Linked DNA regions of Homo sapiens: region 2 is linked to region 1. Evidence: promoter capture Hi-C in 16 types of primary human blood cells and fetal thymus (Javierre and others, 2016). All regions are on one chromosome and are shown on one strand. The core of a region is centred on a gene start or on the middle of the fragment in contact, and the rest is flanking DNA. Distances in the headings are between cores, read along the strand shown.

What was found. The method cuts DNA at HindIII sites, captures the fragments that hold promoters and counts their contacts. A CHiCAGO score of 5 or more calls a contact.
Region 2: a contact is called between a fragment that was not itself captured here and the fragment with the promoter of CT62 in region 1, in 1 of 17 cell types (endothelial precursors). The highest score is 7.7, in endothelial precursors.

The regions. Positions count from the first base shown.
Region 1 is chr15:71,113,949-71,117,131 of GRCh38, reverse strand. CT62 (cancer/testis associated 62) reads left to right here and starts at 1,628. Exons shown (of 4, transcript NR_168260.1): 1 at 1,628-2,208. THSD4 (thrombospondin type 1 domain containing 4) reads right to left here and starts at 1,661. Exons shown (of 18, transcript NM_024817.3): 1 at 1,434-1,661. RefSeq lists silencers at 1,268-1,357, 1,508-1,647, 1,678-1,737, 1,584-1,761, 1,798-1,847. The HindIII fragment of the contact is 2,227 bases long and covers 511-2,737 here.
Region 2 is chr15:71,346,980-71,350,162 of GRCh38, reverse strand. All of the region lies in intron 6 of THSD4 (thrombospondin type 1 domain containing 4), which reads right to left. Among named protein-coding and RNA genes, the nearest start is that of THSD4-AS1, 160 kb to the right of the region's middle. The HindIII fragment of the contact is 4,102 bases long and covers 1-3,183 here.

The sequences.
Region 1 (3,183 bases), core at 379-2,878:
TTGCTTATTCAGAAGGGGCTCCAGTATCCTGATCACCCAAACTCATTTCCCAGGCCCAGACCTCTGGGAAATCCCTGCTCCAGCCCTGCAGAGATTTATAGGAAAGTCCCAGGACGCCCATCTGCTTGCTTCCTCACATTAATTTCAGGGCTAGGATTTTGTTTTCTAAAGGAATTCAACTATGATGCCAACAAAAATCTATAGGAATTGAAGAGTTCCGTATTTTAAGTCACATTTTTAAAATGTTTGCTTCTTTGTATATTGAGACCCAGTAAGACCCTAGTAAGCCCAGTTACTCCATCACCTCCAACAATATTAATCAAGTAGAAGACACGCGGATTTTAAAAGCTGTGTGATCCTTGAAAAATCTTCAGACTGTCAGGGGTCCTGGGTGCCTCCAACTGTGAAAGGAGGGTTGGACAAGGCGATTCCTTAGATCTCTCTCGGGTATCTATTTCTCTAATTCCAAATTCCAACAGGCATCCAATGATTGCTACCCACGTCCAAGCTTTAGACTCATAGCCCGAAAAGGGCGAAGCGCAGCGTGGTAGAGATCGCAAAGGAGACAGGAAGAGAAGCAAGCATGCACTTTTAGTAAGACGGCAAAGGAGGCTGGGAGGTACGGTGCTGGGTGCGGACTGCTTAAAAAACTTACTAGACCACAAATTCCAGATACTTAGGTGGGCCCGAGAACGCCCTAAAATCCCCTTCCCAAGTGAGGGCTGATGTTATTTCAAATAAAAAGAAAACTTAACTTCCAGATCTGTAGAGCTCCAAGGTGAGCTCGCTGTGCAAAAGCTACTTCTGTAAGTGCGCCAAGGGGCCGCAGGTACTTAGGCTGCACTTGAGGAAGTGTCCAGAGTTGGCGGAAACAACCCATCCACTCGGGCTCCAGGCGCTCGCTGGGTTGCAGCAACTAAACTGAGACAGACAGACACACAGATCCGAGGCCCCAGGCCAGGACTCAAGGAGCGCTGACCGAGACTTGCCCGGCTCTCGGGCCCCAGGCGGGAGGGAGGCGAGGCTGAGGTGGGGGGCGCACGGGCTGGGTGTGCACTCGCCGGTCCCCTCCGACCCGACCCGGGGAGCACGGGGCCCCGACCCGGGGACGACTGAGGTGGATTGTCCCTAGAGTTTAAGACTGTCCCTAGAGTCGAGGGTGGAGGGATGAGCGCCGGCGCCAGCACAGAGCAAGACTCCCAGCAAGGAAGAGAACCAGAGAAGGAGGCGCAGCCGTCCGCACGGACCAGGCGCGCGCTGGCTCCCCGAGCCCGGAGCGGCGCAGCCCGCGGCGCCCCGGACACACCCACTGGGTAGCCCGCGCCAGCCCGCCCCGCCGGCCAGAGAGCGGGAGCCGGAGCCTGGGCAGCGGAAGCCGGGTCGGGGCCGCGCGGGCGGCGCGCAGGGGACGCGGGGCGCGCGGCTCTGCTCACCTGGCGGTCCGCGTCCCGGAGCGACCGGCGGCCGCCTCGCCTCGCCTCGCCCCCGCGTGGTTCCCGGCGCCGGGCAGCCCCGAGCGCCGCCGCATGGACGGCCGCCACCGCCGCCCAGCCGCCCCGCGCCCGCCCTGCACGGGCTCCCGCTGTGCCCCGATTCCGCGTCGGGCTGCGCGGGCGGCCAGCGGTTCAGGCGCGCGCGGAGAGCTCTGGCTCAGAGTTTGCGATCCGAGAGCGGGATCCGCGCTCCCTCGGTCCTTCCTCCCTCCCCTCTTGCGGCCTCCCGCTGTCATCTGGAGCCGCTCCTGCCGCCCCCTGGCGGCGACCGCGGGAAGGGCCGGCCCCCATCCGCACCCCTGACCCCGGAGGTCAACAACGGGATGGTCCCTGGGTCCCAGGGGAAGAGACATCACCCAGTAGGAGGGAGTACGGTCTAGACAGAGGCCACGAGGGCGGGAGGGGGCGAGAGTGGAGAGTGGCCCAGCTGGCCAGGGTCGTCTAAGTGAGAGGAAAAGGGAGAGGGCGGTTGAGACCAGGCCCTGAATTCCGCGTTCATCTTATCCTGAGGTCTGTGGGGACCTGTTGAAGGACTGGGGCAGGGGACGGACGCGGGCATCCTTCCATTTGGAACAGCCATTCCGGCAGCATCAGGATGGGGCGGAGGCAAAGCGGGGAGTGGGCGAGGCAAGTGGTGCTGTAAACCTGTGCGAGAAGGGGGCGGTGACTCTAAGGGCAGGAAGGAGCCCTGGTCACACACACACTCCCACGCAAGGTAGGACGCGCTGGGCTCCTTCTGAGGCCAAGGGGAAAGGACAAGAGCCCTCCAAATTCCAACGGGGGTTAGACAGCATGGGGAGGAGACACACACACCCTGACGGCCAGAGCCGTTCGGGATTCTTTCTTGTCTTATTCAGAGTAATATTTTGTTGGGGAAAAAAAAGCCTGCTGCAAAAAAATAATAATTCTTCTCATTAGTAATGATAAAAATCAAACTTTGATCCCTTCATTTTACGAATTGGGAAATTATTGCCCCCAAAAGGGCATGACCAAAGTGACGCGTTTAGTTAATGGAGGGAAAATTGCTAGGGCCCCGTTTCTTGAGTCCTAATTCAGAGCCAAATTCTTTACATTCGAGCCAAGGTGTTCAGAGCTGGGAAGGCAGGAAATAGAGTGACTGTGAGGAACTGTCTCTTCTTTCCCCAGAGCAGGGAGGGGGTGACAAATATTTGAAGAGGCTGTCCAGATACAGGCGTTTCCCTAAATTTCAGTCAGCCTGTTTGTTTATCGCTGCCTCTAAAGCTTGCCTGCAGGGGTTGTTTTGAAAGTGCAGGTATACCGAGAGGACAATGAAGGAGGTGGCAGAATGCAAGCTCCCTGCCCCAGAGCCAGGCAGCACCAGGGCTGGGTGCAGAGCGCTTCGTGGGAGCAGAAGGGAGCTCCCAGGGAAGATTGTCCTCCAGAAAAAAAAAAAAATTAACAAAAGGGAAAGAGGCTACTCAAGAGATTAGGCCAAAGAAAGAAACACCATTTTGAGCACCGACTACTGGCCCGGAGCCTGGCAGAGCCAGTTCTGATTGATTCAAGAGCTGGTTCCAATGGGATGAAATAATTCCACACTTGATCAAACAGATTTTGATGGGAGGCACCTGGTGTAAATGGGATTAGATTAATTCTGAGTGTCACGAGTCTCATGGGTCCAAATTAAGTCGATCTAACAGCTCTAGTAAATACTGGCCAGTTTAAACCA
Region 2 (3,183 bases), core at 290-2,789, 230 kb before region 1:
ATTTTTTTTTTTTTTTTTTTTAGTAATTTGCAGTTTATATAATTATTATAAGGCTGGAAATCTATCTCCCCAGCTGGGCAAGGATACACTATAAATGTGCTAGAATAAAATATAGATGGAGATTTAATTATCATGCTACTCATGCTTTTTAAATAACGGCATGTCAGCACTTCCATAAACCGATTTGCATTACGTTAAAATTAATGGACTGGAAACCTTTGCTTCTGCTGAAATGGACCATCCCCGTCTTTCCCTTTCGCCCTCCACCTCCTTCCTGAGACCAGCTGTGTTTCAGCTCCCCCTTCCCTGGGCCCACACTGAATCTCTGTTACCCTTACAAACCCCTGCTGCCTCTAAGAGTAAGGACCCCTATCCCATCCCAAACTCAAACCTAAGCACATGCAGCCTCATCCCATTTCTCCAAAACATGTGAAAGCAAAAGAAAATCAAAAACTAACTCAGCAATCTTGTTCTTCCTACAGTGGTCTTTGGCTACTGCTGGGTGTGGCCCACTTTTAACCTGTGAGAGTGCCATCCAGTGAAGAGACAATGGGAATGCTACCTCCCAGAGGTGAGCCCAGCAGGGAAAATACAGGCTTCTCAAGGCTAAGGGCAGGTGCTCTGGGGTCAGGGGTCACTGACAGGTGCTACGTAGACAGAAAGGTGATGCAAACGGCCAGTGGCCACACCTTCAAGACATGTTGATAGGGGCAGGGGGAGATGGACAGGCATGTGGAGAAGTGAACAGGCTCGTGTCATCTTTGTTTTCTACATTGTGCAAATGTACGCATGTGAATGAAGAAGGAATGAATTAAGCAAAGAAGTAATTAATACTAAAGAGAAAAAAATAAGAAAGGGAAACAACAATTTTAGGTGCTTTTCTGGGCTGGCCACTTCTGTATCCAATTTACATTTTGTATACAACATATCTACTTTAATCCCTGTAACTCAGAGTAGCCTTGTTTTTAATTAGAATACTGAAGGTCAGAGAAGTTAAGAAATTGCCTATGATCTCACTGCTAACAATTGAAATGGGATTTGAAGCTGGGTCAGCTTGCTCCTGTCCTGGTTTTCCTACCACTCCACGTGGCAAAATGTTGGCAGATGGCATGGACTTGTGAACACAGATAGGAAGGATGGCCCAGAAAAAGAGAATTTATGTCTGAAATACAGAATGGATTACTATAGAGATTACAATACAAGAGGTAACTTCAAAGGAGAGTAGATTTCATAACAAAAATGCAAGAACCTGCATATCCAAATGAGACCACTGCTTCCCTTTACCAGGGTTCCTCTGGAGGCTTGGCACTTACTCCAAAGATGCTGCTGTCTCAAAACATTTATGTAACTCCTTGTTGGAATGCAGTTACACAGCAAGTGACACATTCCTTTTAAATAGCTCATCCTTTAGCAGGTAAATTTGGTTTTTGCTAACAGTCGTATCCTTTGGGACCAAATCTGGAGCAACAATTTGTATTGGGAAGCATAAGTTTTAATCAAAGGCTACAACAGCCATTAGATTAGGTGTGACTATAAAACAGAGAGTTGTCCCTTCTTTAGCTCAATCGGGCTCTGAACACAACTAAGAGCTAAGCTCTGAGCTGTTTTCTGGAGTGGTGGCATTGCCAGAGCACAGACTCGCAAGGTATCTCTGTTGAAAACCAACACTCACCTGGATGTACAGGTCATGGTGAGCAGGTGTTCTGAGGGAAGACAAAGGAAAAGCAGAGGGAGTGTTGACAATTCTGAGCTTCCATATGGCAGACATTCGGGGCCTGTTGGCATGGTCCTCAGAGCAGCAACAACAGCATCAATTGAGGTTCATTAAAATGCAGAATCGCAGGTTCATGTGGACCTACTGAATCAGAACCTGCATTCTAACAACAGTTTTCAGTGGTTCTTCCGCACATTAAAGTTTGAAAAGCACTGGTCTGGAGGAGGAGGCTCTACAAAAGGGTTGGGTATTGAGGAGCCGAAAAGACAACCTGGAACTGAGATTCCCAGGGATGACCTGAAAACAAGCATTTCAAAAGCTCAGAAAAGCAAGATTTTAACTACTCTCATTTTATATTATCGCAACTACATGTCCAAGATTTTACAAAATAGTCTCAGTTTCAAACACTCTGTTCCCTTTGCAGATCATGTATTATGGATGGTCTGGGGCAACAGGGATAGACCCATGGGTATTGGGAATGAGTATGCAGAGGGTAAGATTACTGAAATTGTTATTATGTGGGTATGGAGACGGGCTAGTTAGCATGAAGGACTGCTGAGTGTTTGGGTGGTCCGGCTGATCATCTGAACACTGAAAAATTAAGTTGAAGTCAGAGAAGGATCAATGTTAAGTTAGGAGAACAAGAGAACTTTCTGTGATGATGGAAATGTTCTATATCTACACTGTCCAACATGGTAGCCACTAGTCATATGCGGCTATTCAGCACTAAAAACACAGCTAGCACAAGTGAGAAACTGAATTTTAAATTTTGATATGGGACTACTGGCTAGCACATTGGACTGCACAGGTATATAAAAACCCCATGGCAGCCCCTGTACCTGCAAGTCTAAAGAGGACCAGGAGGATCCCCGCCAAAAGAAGGGTAATCGATGGGACACCAAAGTTATCAGTCAAGTAAGGCAGAAATGCTTGAATGAATAAATGTATATAGATAGAAAGTAGAGACCTTGATAAAGTCAAACTCCTTGCCTTTACAAGTGTGTGTTCAGCAGCCATGCAAGGGAGATGTCCATCTGGCAGTGGCCCAGGGCAAGGTGTCAGAGCCCTAGTGGCAGGGAGATGGCATCCACATATGAGGGAGGGTGACATGGTGCTAACTGGGCATCTACATAGGGCAGGGGGACAGTGGTGATGTGAAATTGATTACATTCAGGGTGACGGAGTACACAGTAAAAATATAAAAGATAATGGAACCTAGATTTCTCATGGCCAGAGAAGAGAGTTACAACTGCAGAAAGAGAGAAAATGAGAATGAGCCGGGCACGGTGGCTCACACCTGTAATCCCAGCACTTTGGGACACCGAGGCGGGCAGATCGCCTGAGGTCGGGAGTTCGAGACCAGCCTGGCCAGCATGGTGAAACCCTGTCTCTACTAAAAATACAAAAATTAGCCAGGTGTGGTGGCACGCGCCTGTAATCTCAGCTACTCAGGAAGCGGAGGCAGGAGA